Linked DNA regions of Homo sapiens: all the other regions are linked to region 3. Evidence: promoter capture Hi-C in 16 types of primary human blood cells and fetal thymus (Javierre and others, 2016). All regions are on one chromosome and are shown on one strand. The core of a region is centred on a gene start or on the middle of the fragment in contact, and the rest is flanking DNA. Distances in the headings are between cores, read along the strand shown. Region 1 has its middle 30 kb from the start of LINC01738. Region 2 overlaps LINC01738 (long intergenic non-protein coding RNA 1738). Region 3 holds the start of FOXE3 (forkhead box E3). Region 4 has its middle 12 kb from the start of LINC01738. Region 5 has its middle 65 kb from the start of LINC01738.

Region 1 (2,700 bases), core at 143-2,642, 300 kb before region 3:
AGGATCATCTAACCCAGGGATCAGAGTGGCAGGTGGCAGTGGAACATAGCACATCACCCCTTGTACCTGCAAGCACAAAGCTTGTGGCCCCTCAGAGCCTGTCTGCCCAACAGAAGACCAAGGACTCCACGATTCTAACGCCAGCTAAACCCAGAGCTCATTCCCAATGGTAGCCTCAGCATCTAGCCAGGACCTGGCACCAGAGGGGCTCAATTAATATTTGTTGAGTGACTACGTAAATGAATTTCCAACTCTTTGTAGAACATCTATGAGGGCGGTCATGAGATAAGTTGGTGAAAGTAAATGGGAAAGACCGAGGTGAGTAAACATGAAAGATTCATTTAGTTATTAATACAAATATTTCTCTCTGTCATTTTTGTCTATTGGCCTCCCTTCTTTTCCAATACAAACATTTATTAGGCATCTACCATGGAACAGGCCTGTGTGGGCTCCACAGATGCAGGGATAGACAATGTTAAGACATTTCTCAACATTCCTTTAGCCCTTACTGTGTGACTGACACTAATCCAAGCATTTTACATGGGTTTTCTCACTTAATACTCATAACAACCTGAAGAAGTAGAAACTTTTATTATTGTTCCATTTTACATGTTAGGAAACAAGAGACAAAGAAATTAAATAACTTAGTCAAACTAACTGAGAAAGTGGTGGAGCCCAGAATCATATGCAGACACTCAAATTTCAGAGCCAAGTGGGGAAAAATCTTCAGCCCTGCGTACCTCACTAGCTGATTGAATCAGGTGTGAGGGGGGGTTAAGTAAGGCAAGGGAGGGCCTTAGATGACATACATAGCATGGTATTTAGCAAAGAGAGAGCTCTTTCTAAATGTGACTATTGTGAACCCTATTTTTATTGTGAAAGTATTACCATGAAAGCAATAATTTTGTTATCCACACTTTCTCTCTTTTCTTTGGTATCTAATGAGCTTTTTTTAAAGGCCCTTAGAGGGTAGCTAAGGCACTGACTAAAGAGGGAACTGAGGCCCAGAAAAGGGCAGGAATCTGCCTCTTCCCAGGCCGCCAAGGCTAGAAGCATCAGTCTACTGGTAAATTTAACACCAGCTCTCTAGAGAAGAGAAAGCCTGATTTGCAGTCTTTGCCAGTTTCTATGGTGTGTTCTCACCATGGCAGATTTCAAACTGAAGTGAGATCACTTGATAGTGCAGTTGAATAGAGGCACTTACGGTCAGCTCTGGCCAGTGGGTGCAAACAAGCTCTGCACACCACGGACCAGAACCTAGGCTTTCTGACAAGCCTGGAGACCTTTACAGGATACCACCAAATCCAACGGCCCCAAGGGTCCATGTAGATGAGGAGTGGGGCTATGAGGATAGGAGGAAAAGGAGAGGGACAAAATGCTGAACCCCGAAGAGCTCTGAAAAGTTCAATAGGTCTTCCTTCTCCACACACTCAAGATTGCTTGTTCTATGCTCTCTCTGATAACTTGTAAAGTTTAGACTTGGGGAGAAGAAAGGGAAATGGCTTGGTTCCTGATACCCTCCTAGATTGAGCAGGATGTGGCAGTATGAGCTCAGTCCTGCCTGCTTTGCAGTTCCTGAAAGAAGAAGCCGTGGCTGGGGTCACCTGCTCCCTGGGTCCAGAAAGGGAGATCAGGTGATTTCATTTCCAGAGTACAGCATGTATTTCTCAATTTAACTTTGGGTCATTTTCACCGCTTATTTCCTTCCTCCTGGTCTCATAGTGTGTCCAGTGACTAATCCAAGACCCAGACTCTGACATAGGCTTAGAGATCTGTGATGTTGGGCACTCTACCAAGTACCCCTCTTCATCAGCATGGCCTCAATTCCACTAGTAGCTCTCCCTCTAGGTCAAGTCAGTGATGTGCTATTAAAATTGTCCGACTATTAATGATGGTAGTGAAAAAAATAACTGCACTTACTCTAACATCTTTAAACTGACTACTTAATATTAGCTTATTGCTATCCCAAACAAGTAAAAGAAACATTTAAGCCCCTACTATGTGTCAGACATGCAATGTGCATTATATTTAATTTTCCAAGCAAACTGACCAGGAAAGTTATCATCCTCATATTTTATTGATGAATAAAGCTCTTCCTAGAAGGGTTATGTAACTTGGCTGAAGTCACATGGCTAGTAGGTGACTGAGCCAGGATTGGAACCCAGGTGTATTTGTGTTCAATACTGTATTCTTTCCCTATTCTGTGATGATTCATCTCTTAGGTTGATTAGGAAAAAAAAAAAATCAAGATAATTCTGAGAGAGTGAACACAGGCTAGGCATATTAGTTTTCTATTGCTATGAAACAAATTACCATAAATTTAGCAACTTATAGCAGTACCTATTTACTATGGTATAATTGTGTAGCCCAGAAATCCGGGTGGGCTTATGTGAGTCTTCTGCCCTGGGTCTCACAGGCTAAAATCAAGGTGTTAGCCATCTGGGGTCTTATGGGAAGGCTCTGGGAAAAATGCCCTTCCAAGCTCAATCAGGATGTTGGCAAAATCCAGTTCTTTGCAGTTGTAGACTGAAGTCCCTGGTTCCTTGCTAGCCATCAGCTCCTTAAGGCCATTCATTTTCCTTCTCACATGGTCCTCTCCATTTTCAAAGCCAGCAATGATGCAGCAAGTTATTCTCATACTTCAAATATCTCCAAGATCTCCTTCTTCTGACTTCCTTTTCTGCTGTTGGCTAAAGAAAG
Region 2 (2,700 bases), core at 19-2,518, 280 kb before region 3:
GGAAAAATTTGCTCCCGGGCTTAGGTCTTCAAAAAACACCAGCTCTTTCTGGCTAGCCAGGAAGGAGAGTAAACACCAAATAATAACAAAACAATAGGTATAATTTTAATATTTATTCTTTCACATGTAAACACATTCATCTAACAAAAGACTGAATCAGTATCTCCTTTGACCCTCATCAGAAGCTGAGGGGATAGTTGGCAGTGGGTGGAGGGGGGCGAGGGGGATTATTATCCTCATTTTACAGATGAGGAAGCTCAAGTCCAGAGAGGTTAAAGTGACTTTTGTGAATGTCACACCTCTGCTACAGTGCTCTAATAAGCCCACTGCACCAAACTTCCAAATTGGTAAGATCATGGCATCCTTTTTCAGTGAAGAGTGTGTCCCGGATGCAAATAGCCATTAAGTGGTTCATATGGTTCTGTGGTTGAGATGGGCCCTAAGAAGCTGTGATCTTTCCTCCCATCTCATGGTAACCTAGGGGTTAGAGGTAAGGCTACAGTCTGCAACTGAGGTCTGGACTCAGCCCAGGCAAGAACCAGAGACCCGGTCTCCTGGCCCCAGCCCAGTGTTATTTCCACTCTGACACTGACCTAGGGCAAGGCCCTCCCAGTTTTTTCAGCCTCCCTATCTGTAGTGAGAGGGTGTGGGAGAGAAAGCCTCTAGGGCCCCTTCCAGGGTCCAGGCTGTAGCTGTGATCAGTTCTGAGCTCAGGATGTGAAGGTGAAGAATGAGAGCAGGAAGTTCCAGGCTCCAGGGGGTGGGGCAGGCCCCACCAGGGGAGGCAGAGGGCACAGAAGCCACCCCTGACCGACTTCACAAGATAAGGCCCACCCTCACCTCCCCACTTCCTCCTCTCCAGCCCCAGGGTCTCCTTTGCTTCCACATCTTGTTGACTTTTGAATTTACAAGGTGTGCCAGTTGCCAAGGCCCCTGGTTGATTACACCCCCGGACCTGCCTTAGGAAAGCATCCTCCTCTCCAAGCCCCCACCAGCAACTGGGAGGTGAGGCTGGGAACGCAAGATGGGATCTCTCAGGTGCTGGAAAGAAATTAAAGAGGAAACTTATCAAAAAGAGGATGGAAGAGAGAAAGCAAAGGTAAGTTCCATTCTGGAAAGGAAATGGGGAGGAGCCACGTGCAATTTTATAGCCATGTTCTGAAACTCATGACTCTTGACCAGGTCCGACTCTGACCGTGGGGGAAAGCTCAGGTGGGGTGAGGAGCTTTATGGTGTTTGCTTGGTTTATTGGCTTTGTGGAAGAGGATATGAGGGCCCAGGCAGTTCTCTGGAGATAGGACCCCTCAAGGAAAGGCCAAGATTTATGGTTTCCGGAAGCCCTCAAGGTTACTGGCCTAGGCCTAGGCTTTCCTTGGTTCTGGGGATTTAAGGGAGGGAGGGCCTGGAGGTAAAGGAAATTCCAAATCATGGTGAGAATCATTCCCCAAAAGACTTTATCTTCCATGGTCTCCCATGATTCCCAGTAACTACATGATGTTGACAGTCCGCCATCATTTTAACGAAATGGGGGCCTGAGGCTGGGAGAGCAGGCAGGCCGGCCCCTGGTCAGCTAGAATCAGTGTCAGGGGAGCAACTCAAACCCATCTTTCCTGGTTCCCACTCCAGGGCGCTTTCTCACTGGGCTATTTATACTGGAGTGGCCTTTGACACCCAATCAGAAAATACCTGAGTCACACTGGCTAAAAGAAAAGAAGTATTGCTAAGGGCTCTGGCCTAGAGTCACCTCTGTGTCACCACATGCAGGCCTGGGACAATAGCCATCCATCACTGCTCAGCAAGGTAGTGTAGGTGTCCCCTTGCACAAGCATGTGACTACACAAAGGGTGCTTGACCTTCCAGGAAATGCTACTGTGGACACTGTCCCTGGCCAAGTGGCTCTGGAAACAAATGTTTCATTGACAAACCTACTTCACAGGCATAAGAGGCTGGTTCCTGACATGGCCTTCCAGTCTTCTGTGGACCCTGTTAGCAGGATAAATTTTATTTCTGAGCTTAATTAGGGGACATGCCATAAATATTCATGCAGCAAAATGAGCCCTGGCTCACAAGTGCAGCTGCTTCCCGCTTGGGGGAAATTAACATTGTTTTCCAACCATGAGTAATGAGGCGCCACTGCTGGAGAGAGGAGCCTTTTCAACAGCCTCTTTAGGACAGAAAGGGAGAGCCACACTCAGAGGCACCCGCACCCTGGGAGCCAGCCTGGCCCCCGCAGACCCCTCTGCATCTCCAAATGAGGGGCACAGCTGGGCTCCTCTGGGGCTCAGTCCTGAAGGGAGCCCCCACCAAGGCGCTCAGCAGAGCAGACAATGCATCAAGAACAGGGATCAGCAAACTATAACACAAGGGCCAAATCCACCTGCCACCTGCTTTTGTAAATAAAGTTTTATTGGAACCCATTTGTTTAGATATGGCTACAACAGCAGAGTTGAGTAATGTGACAAGAGACCTTATGGCCTGCCAAGCCAAAGGAAAATATTTACAACCTGGTCCTTTGCAGAAAAAGTATGCCCTAGAACTGTTTCATCCTGGACATTTGCAATTATTAATATAAGTCCCATAATCTCAAATTCTCTGTAACCTTAGGAATATGGAATGGTTTTAAAGTCTCATGGTTTTAGAATCTTCGTGCATAGACTCTGGAACCAGACTTCAATCTCAGCTCTATCACTTCCTTAGCTG
Region 3 (2,700 bases), core at 174-2,673:
AGAGAAGGTTGATGAAGTACAGTCGGTGGAGGAGGCGGCTTGGGATCACAGATCTGGCTTCCAAAGGCTTGGAACTCACCAGGAAACCTGGGGTATGGACTCACTGGAGGCGAGTCAGCTCCGGGGCAAGGGACCCACAGACAGCGCTGGGGTGGGGGGCGCCGCAAAGCTGGGGGCGCTCACAAGTGGAGGGAGAAGAAATGAGAGGCTGGCAGGTCAAAGGGGACGCTTCTGTCCAGTGGCGAGATGGTGGGAGCCTCCCCAGGGATGGGGGACGGAGAAGGATGTAGCAGGAGTTTGAGTCCAGGAGGCCACGACGAGAGGCGCAGGGTGTGCTCCAAGCCAGGGTGGGGGGTAGAGATGGGGCGCTCGAGGGCGGCGCCGCAGGTCCGGGGCACAGGTCGCACAGGTGCCTGCCCGCGCGGCGCAGGCTCACAGGTAGCGCTCCAGCCCCGACGCGAAGCCCGGCTGCCTCAGGTAGGCCTCCCCAGGGCTGAGCGGGCCGAGAGCGGCTGCCGGCCCGGCCAAGGCCAGGAGGGGCTCAGCGGGCAGCGGGCCGGGGCCGGGGCGCGTCGCGGGCAGTACCAGGCGGTCGGGGACCTGCGAGTAGAGTGGCGGGGAGGCGGCGGCAGCGCAGGGCGGGAAGGCTGCGGCTGCGGCGTCGGGCGCGGCGCAGCAGGGCGGCTCGGGGGCGCCCAGCCCCGCTAGCTCCGGCTGCAGGTTCACCAGGCTGTCGACGCTGAACAGACGCGCGGGCGGCGAGGGGCCCGGTCCGGCAGAAGGCGGCGGCACCAGCAGCGCGGGGCCGGGCGCGGGCGCGTAGGGCGCGTAGGGGAAGGGGAGCGGCGGCCCTGGCGCCGCGGCCGCGTGCGCGGGCAGCTCGGCGCGCTTGAAGCGCTTGCGGCGCCGCAGGAAGCTGCCGTTGTCGAACATGTCTGCGGCCGCGGGGTCCAGCGTCCAGTAGTTGCCCTTGCCCGGGTTGCCCGGCTCGCGGGGCACCTTGACGAAGCAGTCGTTGAGCGTGAGATTGTGGCGGATGCTGTTCTGCCACTTGCGCGGGCTGTCGCGGTAGAAGGCAAAGCGTTCGGTGATGAAGCGGTAGATGGCGGCCAGCGTGAGGCGGCGGCCCGGGGCGTGCGCCAGAGCCATGGCGATGAGCGCGATGTACGAGTAGGGCGGCTTCCCGCGCTGCAGGGGCCGCCGCCGCCGCCGCCCCGGGCCGGGCGCGGGCGTGGGGGCCGCCTCTCCGCGGCCAGCCGCCGCCTCCTCTGGCTCCCGCCCTGGCTCGGCTCCTGCGAGCGGCGACGGCGGCGGCCCCGACGGCGCGACCGCTGGCAGGGCAGGGAAGCCAGAGAACGCGGCGGGCGGATCCATGTCGCTGCGCCCCGCCATCGGCTGCGGCAGCCCCTGCCCGCGCGGCTCCGGGACCGCAGGGGCCGCCGACCCGCTTTATATGGACACGGCCCCCCCCCAACCACCGCCGGGGGAGAGGGCTCAGGCCTTGCCTGCTGGCCAGCGCCTCCCCTCTAATTTCCTCTCCCAGCCCCCTTACTCTGTTCACGGTACCCTCCTCCATTTCGCCCCTCCCTTTCTGCCTTTGGATCAGTTTTTCCCAGACCCAGACTCACCCCTTCCCCATCTCGGTTATATCAGCCCCTGGCCCCATCCCACTGTATTTGGTCAGTCCCCTTCCCTTTCCACCCCTCCTTCTACCCCCTCTCCTTTGGATCATTCCCAATCACAAATCCACCCATTCACTCTCCCAGCCCCCTCCCCATTTTGCTCCTCCCCATTTTGCTCCTCCCAGTAGTCGGTCCCCCCATCCTTCTCCTGGCCTTCCATCCCCAGCTGGAACAGAGATGAAGGCCGCCTTGCCAGCCCTCAGTATCCTGATGGGGAGGTGTCAGGCCCACTCACAGACATTAGGGAACCTGGGCCAAGGTAATGAAGCAGCGGGGCAGGGCAGAGCCAGGCCGGTTTTGTCTCTGGGAGAATGTTTGACTGCTCCAGATCAGGGTCACCATCTTGCCTCTCTGCCACCCCCCTCCCCCATACCCCTGTCATGCCCTCCCTCCAGGCCTTGAGAGCATTCTCTGAAAAAACAGAATTGTGGAAAGTGGTGCGGCCGCTTTAAATGAAGAGCCCCCAGGAAATCCACAACTTGGAGCTGCCTTTCTGGCTGCCTCCTCTCCACACCCCCCTGTTAAAGAAAACAGCTTTTCTTCACATACACACACACACACATACACCCACACACACAGTACAAAATGTAGGCTTCCACAGACTGGGGGTCTGAAAAAGCCGCCTTCTGACCCAGAAACACCACACTCACATCTCACTGGGGATGGGGGGTCTTTGGCAGTGTTTGTTAAAAACTCAGTCTGAGAAGTTCCACCCACAACTGGCATCCAGGGGGATGCAGCACCCAGCCTATTTTGGGAAACTTCTTCTCCCAAGAGACAGGAGACCCATCCCCAGCTCCAAGGGAACTACAGGGTGAAGGAGCCTTGTCTTAAAGTGGGTTGTCCTGGGGACAGGCAGATCAAGGGACTTGGACATGGAGCAGGGCTGGAAGGACAGTGAGCCCACTGAGGTGCCTGAGGTGCTGAGTTTAAGGGGAGCTCAGTCTCAGGGCCTTGCAAGTGCAGTCAGCACTTGAGAGCCAGGGCCTCCTTACATTTGGGGCATCTCACTTGCCCC
Region 4 (2,700 bases), core at 165-2,664, 260 kb before region 3:
TGAGAACAGAGGAGGTGCTGGCTATGAGCATACTTTGCAAACTACAAAGCCCCAGGGAGCCCCCTTAATGTGGCTCCAGTTTCCCCTGCGGCTCCTGGGCTGGGGCGTCTTAGCCTGGCTGCTGGGCGTCCTCGAGCTCCACTTGCACCCAGGCCTCCCTCTCTGTGCGTCGAGTCCGGCGGTGCTGACCCAGCCTGGCCCAGCAGGAGAACCTCAGCTCGGGAACCGCGGGGCCCTGCGGGGGAAGGTCAGGCTGGCAATTTATGGTGTGTGGGACCAACTCTCTCCCGACACATGATCTGTCAAGGGCGATGTTTTCCTTGGAAAGCTGCTCCTGCGTGGAACCCTCTTCCCGGCAAGGAGCTCTCCCTCAGGTGCTCACAGAGTTCACCGGCAGGCGACGGGGAGGCCGGGGCCTCCTGGGAAGGGGCCGTTTCCATCAGAAATGACAAATGGATTTCCTTAGCTCCAGGCCTCAGCCCAAGCACATTCTGCCGGGCAGAACGGCCTCATAAAGGTTCTGAGAGGGCCACAGAGCTCTCGTGGGCTGGGAGGGAAGCCTGGCCTGGCTCTCTGCCCCTTCTACACCAGACCCTCTTGGTCTCAGAGGCTGCAGAGTGGCCACAGAAACAGAGATACAGGGATGCAGAGAGGGGGGAAGAGAGGCAGAGATGTAGACACAGGCACAGAGAGCTCAAAAGTCAAAAAGACTGAGAATGACACAGAGACAGAGTCTGGGCAGGGAAGGAACAGAGGAAGTGCCCAAGAACAAAAGCACATGGTGATGGAGAGCCTCAGAGACAGGGAAAGACAGAGCAAGGAGGGAGAAGGGACGGTAAACACGTGCAGTAAGCGACGGCGGCGTGGGCTGGGGCCATGGAGAGGCAGCAAGAAGGCCGGAGAGACAGCAAGGGAGAGCTCCAGACAGAGCCGAAAGATGAGACAGACAGGGAGTGAGGGCCTAGGAAGAAGTGAAGGAAGAGGCCAGGAGACAGAGAAAAGAAGAGCTGTGGGCGGAGAGGCCAATGTGGAGGAGGCTGTCACAGTCCACACAGGACACTGAGGTGAAAAAACCAAATCTCTGTGACCCCAGTGAAAGACGTGGGTTGGTTCCACCTTCATTTAGAACAAATGTATGGGCCATTCAAATCTCAGGCCCTGTCACGCAAACCTGCCTGCTCACCCACTTCCTGGATAGCAGCAAGTCCTCAGAAGTACAGGTAGGGGATGAGAGCACAGGTCCGTTGGGTCCCCAAGGGAGGGGGACTGTGTCGAAGGCCTGGTGTGGGTGGCTGTGAGGGGAGCCCAGGGAGGTGGAGGAAAGAGCCCTTTTGTGGGGGGGCTGCAGTGGTGGTGATGATGGAGGGCTGGTGAAGCGGGAGCTATCAGGAATCCTGGCTGAGCTGATGGGGAGGAAGAGAAGAAAGGAAAGGATCCCACTTTCTCTGAGGCCAAGGACCACTGTGTTTTTCATAGCATCAGACTCCAGTTTGAAAGCTAGGAAGTCCAGCCTCCACTAGGACAGGAATCCACTCAGTAACTATTTATTGAGCCTCTACTAAGTGCCAGGCAGTCCTCCTGTTGCTGGGGATACCACAGTGAACACAACGGAAGAAATGTACCCTCACGGAGCTTGCTTCCTAGTGAGAGGAGAAAGAGAATAAGAAACAAAGGCTTGCAATGTATGGCATGGCAGGCGGGAATGGGAGCTGTGAATACAAGCGGCAGGGGAGGAGGAGAGAGTGCTAGGAGGCTGGTGATTTTAAGCAGGGTGCTCACACCAGCCCAGTTCAGGGAAGACCCAGCAGAGAGGCCTTGAGAGTGTGGAGGAGCGAGCTGTGAGGACGCTAGGGAAAACGGGCCTGGCACGTCCATGGAGAGCAAGAAGAGTGGGCCAGAGGGGAGGGGACACAAGGCCCAGTGGGAGATGAGGGCAGGACTGGAAGAGGGGCCAGGCCTTGCGGGTCCCGCAGGCCCATGTAGGTGCTGGTTCGGGCTCTGAGTGAAATAAGGAATCAGCGAGGGCTTTGAGCAGAGGAGTGATGTGAAACGACTTACTTTATTTAGGAGGTGACTGCCATAGGTGTGACAAGAGATGGTGGTGACTTGGACCAACCAGGGTGCTAGCTGTGGAGGTGGTAAGAAACTGTCAGGTTCTAGATGTTTCAAAGGTAGAGTGCACAGGATTTGCAGACAGATTGGTGTGGGTGTGGTATGAGGAGGAGAGGCAGGAGTCGCGGCCTCCCTGCCAGGGTCCTGCACCTCTGCTGTCACCTCCTGGGGCTCTCTTGGATAGCCCTGCCTGAGAGCCAGTGCTTCCCATGGGTGGTGCTCAGACCTGCCGTCCAGAAAGGCCCACCAACACTTTTCAGTGGGCATGCAGTCAGGAGGACAGGGACAAAGAGAGCCTCAGAGACTCCCTGTGGACCATCCACAGAAGCCCAAGGAGCTGAGACCATGTGAGGGAGACTGAGCCTGCCTTGCCATCTGACTGCCACTCTACTTGTTCCCACCCCACCTTTCTAGTGCTGCCTCCTGCAGGAGAATGTCCTTTTTATTTCCAGAAGTGTTGACTGCATTGACTGCAGAGAACAAAGGTGGTGGTTGAAAGAATTAAGTGGACTACAAGAACTAACCTAGGTAAAGCCCTACACAGTTACTATTCAGTAAAAGGTATTGATGATCCTGATAATTATTATT
Region 5 (2,700 bases), core at 93-2,592, 340 kb before region 3:
AACTCCATCTCCATCCCCACTGTCCCTTCCACAGCTAGCTGCTCATTCCCCCTATTTTCACCTGAAAACTTCTTTCCTGGTATTCAAGGCCTCACTTAATTTGTGCTTCCTCGTAGAAGCGTGCTCTGGTCCCCCGGGCTCACACTTCCACCTCTCCTGAAGCCCCAGCCTTTGTATGCATCCAGTCTTAGATGATGGGTTTCGTATGGCTTATCACCCTTAGAATATGATAAAGGGAAAGCCGTGCATGCAGAGCCCAGGTCATATTCATTTTTCCATCCCCTGGATGAATAGTCTTTAAAATAGAGGACACGTGGTCAACATTTATTGCATTAATTTTAAGTCTGAAGACTAAGCATCATCCAAGGTTAGTATTAAATTATGTTCATCAAAAGCAAAACTGAGAGAAATCCAAACATCTAGGTACAATAGAGGTCTGAGCCTTCCCTCTTTCATGCCTGGCTTCTCAGAGAAAATCTCCAAATTAGTGTTTTTCAGCAGGGGTAGTATCAACACCCATAGGATGCTTTGGGAATTCGTCGGGGAGTTTTTGGCTTTCATACAGCTGTTGCAGGGGCGGGGTGGTGCGGGGGTAGTTGTGGTCAAGGGCTAGCGACACTTAGTGACCTGCTAAGAGCCCCACATAAAGAATTATCCCCCATCCTGCAAAATTTTTGCATGTTTTGCCAAACATTCATTAGGGGAGAAAAAAAAATCATTTGTAATTATCTGAGCCTAGAACCTGAATCCATTTTACGTAAACACGTAGTATTTGTTTGTAAAGGTTTAATGTGCACTAAATCTTACAGGAATGTAATTGCCATGTATATTGAGAGAAGAATGTGCTTCATTTTGTTCTGAACTTTACCAAGAGTTGTTCACTATTTTTGAGTGCCACCTTACTAACAACAATGCCTGTGTATTCCGGGTGTCAGAGAGACACACAGCTGTACTCCTTGGTATTTTAGCTGTCACTTTCAGGGTGACTCAACAGTTAGGTACAAGCTTTGACTATTACATTATGTCTACAAGTGTTGATGTACCCAAGTGTGGACAAACCAAATTACATATTATTTTATTATAAGCTACTATTTCTTTTTCCTTATAGTTAGGGCACTGAATTAATTTTTAAAAAATCATATGTGTAGGTGTGTTATATTATTCATAAGTTTCATTTCAGTACAGAAGGGACACTTTAAAGTATTTGTGATAAAATGGGATCCTGGGTCTGAAAGGATAAAGAGCCCCTGTTCTAGATGTTTCTTTCCACTACGAGAAATGAAATGTCCTGAGCTGTTGTACCAGTCCCTGGATCCTGGAGCTATTCTATTTTCTACTGCAGCCTTTTCTGCATGATTTTCTAAAAGAGTGGAGCACCTTTCGAGGAATAGGAGGTAGAGTGACACATTGCACATAGCAACAGGCCTGAGCCCAAGACCCTCTTTGGCTACCTACTGGTTATTTTTCCTTGGGCATGTCACTTAACCCTGGTATTATTAGCCTTATCTGGGAAATGGAGATAAATATGACTTACTTTATAGAGCTATAATGGCGATGACCTGAGACAACAGGCCTGAAGTGCTTTATATCTGCAAAATCAACTTCAATGCATGTTATCATGGTTCTTGAAAGAGGGAAGAAGCATGTGCCCCTGAATTTCCACAATGCTTCAAGCTTCGCTCAAGAACCCCAGGTGCTGTGAGTGGAAGATTTTGACTAATTCAGGACCCAAAGAGAGTTCCATTCCTGCTTTGCCACTGACTTCATAAATAACATTAGGCCAATGGCATCTCCTTACTGAGCTTCAGTTTCCCTATTCAAAAAAATGCAGCAATTAGAGCAGATGATCTTTGAAGAGCCTTCTAAGTTTGATAGGTTAGGATTCCAAGATCTTTCTCTACCCTCTAACCTCTTAATAAAACTCCCAAATTTTAAAGCCACCCCTTCTAAAAAATTAATTTGCATCAAATGCTAAAGCCCAACAACTAGTTGCTGCCCTTAGCAGCTTCCAGCCTGGCAGCTTGATCCTCTTTCGAAGGGGCCCTTTAAGGTCTCCAGGACATGAAGAGAAGCTCCAAATCCACGTTAGGAGCGTTCCACACACATTCGGGCAGAGGCACGAAGGTGCAGCCAGAGTTAGTGGTGGGCGGGGCACAGAGAGTGGGCTCAGGGGGTACTCAGAAGGGGAGGCAGGGAAGACAGCTGTGGCAGTGTGGAGCGTGGACAGGCTGGGTAAGACGGAGCCATCCAGCAGGACTTTCAAGAGGGGGGTGGGGGCCGTAGACCATTGGTGGCTGTATGAATGACAGAGAAGGAGGGCATGGAGAGACGTGCTAGAGGAGGCGCTGGGCAAAGCATGTTAGCGAGGGTGTGGTCTTAGAGCACATGGAACTGAGAGAAGTAGAGGGTCTGGAGCAGGACTTGGAAGCCCGGACTGTGGATTTTGGATTTGATCAATGACTGTCCCTAAAAGTCTTTTATTCAAGAAGATGGAAAAAATCGTGTCTCTCTGGGACACTGAGGCTCCTAAGGAATGCAGGGGGTGGTAGCTGGGCTAGGGAATTCAGGAGCCAGGGAGGGCTGAGCCAACTCTCCCAGCGGGCCCAGGCCCGTCTGCCAGAGCAGGAAAGAGAAATAAACACAGGCCGGACGGATCCGGAGCGGGCACGAAGCCCCAGCTGAAGGTCTCCTGAATCTCCA

Evidence for each region. The method cuts DNA at HindIII sites, captures the fragments that hold promoters and counts their contacts. A CHiCAGO score of 5 or more calls a contact.
Region 1: a fragment that was not itself captured here is called in contact with the fragment with the promoter of FOXE3 in region 3 in 16 of 17 cell types (naive CD8 T cells, megakaryocytes, M0 macrophages and 13 more); the score reaches 16.0 in naive CD8 T cells.
Region 2: a contact is called between a fragment that was not itself captured here and the fragment with the promoter of FOXE3 in region 3, in 16 of 17 cell types (M0 macrophages, naive CD8 T cells, total CD8 T cells and 13 more). The highest score is 12.9, in M0 macrophages.
Region 4: a contact is called between a fragment that was not itself captured here and the fragment with the promoter of FOXE3 in region 3, in 1 of 17 cell types (non-activated CD4 T cells). The highest score is 5.9, in non-activated CD4 T cells.
Region 5: a contact is called between a fragment that was not itself captured here and the fragment with the promoter of FOXE3 in region 3, in 3 of 17 cell types (erythroblasts, total CD8 T cells and activated CD4 T cells). The highest score is 5.7, in erythroblasts.

Annotation. Positions count from the first base shown.
Region 1 is chr1:47,716,993-47,719,692 of GRCh38, reverse strand. No RefSeq gene overlaps it. Among named protein-coding and RNA genes, the nearest start is that of LINC01738, 30 kb to the right of the region's middle. The HindIII fragment of the contact is 2,620 bases long and covers 83-2,700 here.
Region 2 is chr1:47,696,296-47,698,995 of GRCh38, reverse strand. The region is part of intron 2 of LINC01738 (long intergenic non-protein coding RNA 1738); the gene reads right to left. Among named protein-coding and RNA genes, the nearest start is that of LINC01738, 9.1 kb to the right of the region's middle. The HindIII fragment of the contact is 3,165 bases long and covers 1-2,700 here.
Region 3 is chr1:47,415,008-47,417,707 of GRCh38, reverse strand. FOXE3 (forkhead box E3) reads right to left here and starts at 1,423. Exons shown (of 1, transcript NM_012186.3): 1 at 1-1,423. The coding sequence starts at 1,392. The coding sequence ends at 433. The region is part of intron 1 of LINC01389 (long intergenic non-protein coding RNA 1389); the gene reads left to right. The HindIII fragment of the contact is 18,012 bases long and covers 1-2,700 here.
Region 4 is chr1:47,675,087-47,677,786 of GRCh38, reverse strand. No RefSeq gene overlaps it. Among named protein-coding and RNA genes, the nearest start is that of LINC01738, 12 kb to the left of the region's middle. The HindIII fragment of the contact is 6,490 bases long and covers 1-2,700 here.
Region 5 is chr1:47,752,286-47,754,985 of GRCh38, reverse strand. No RefSeq gene overlaps it. Among named protein-coding and RNA genes, the nearest start is that of LINC01738, 65 kb to the right of the region's middle. The HindIII fragment of the contact is 669 bases long and covers 1,008-1,676 here.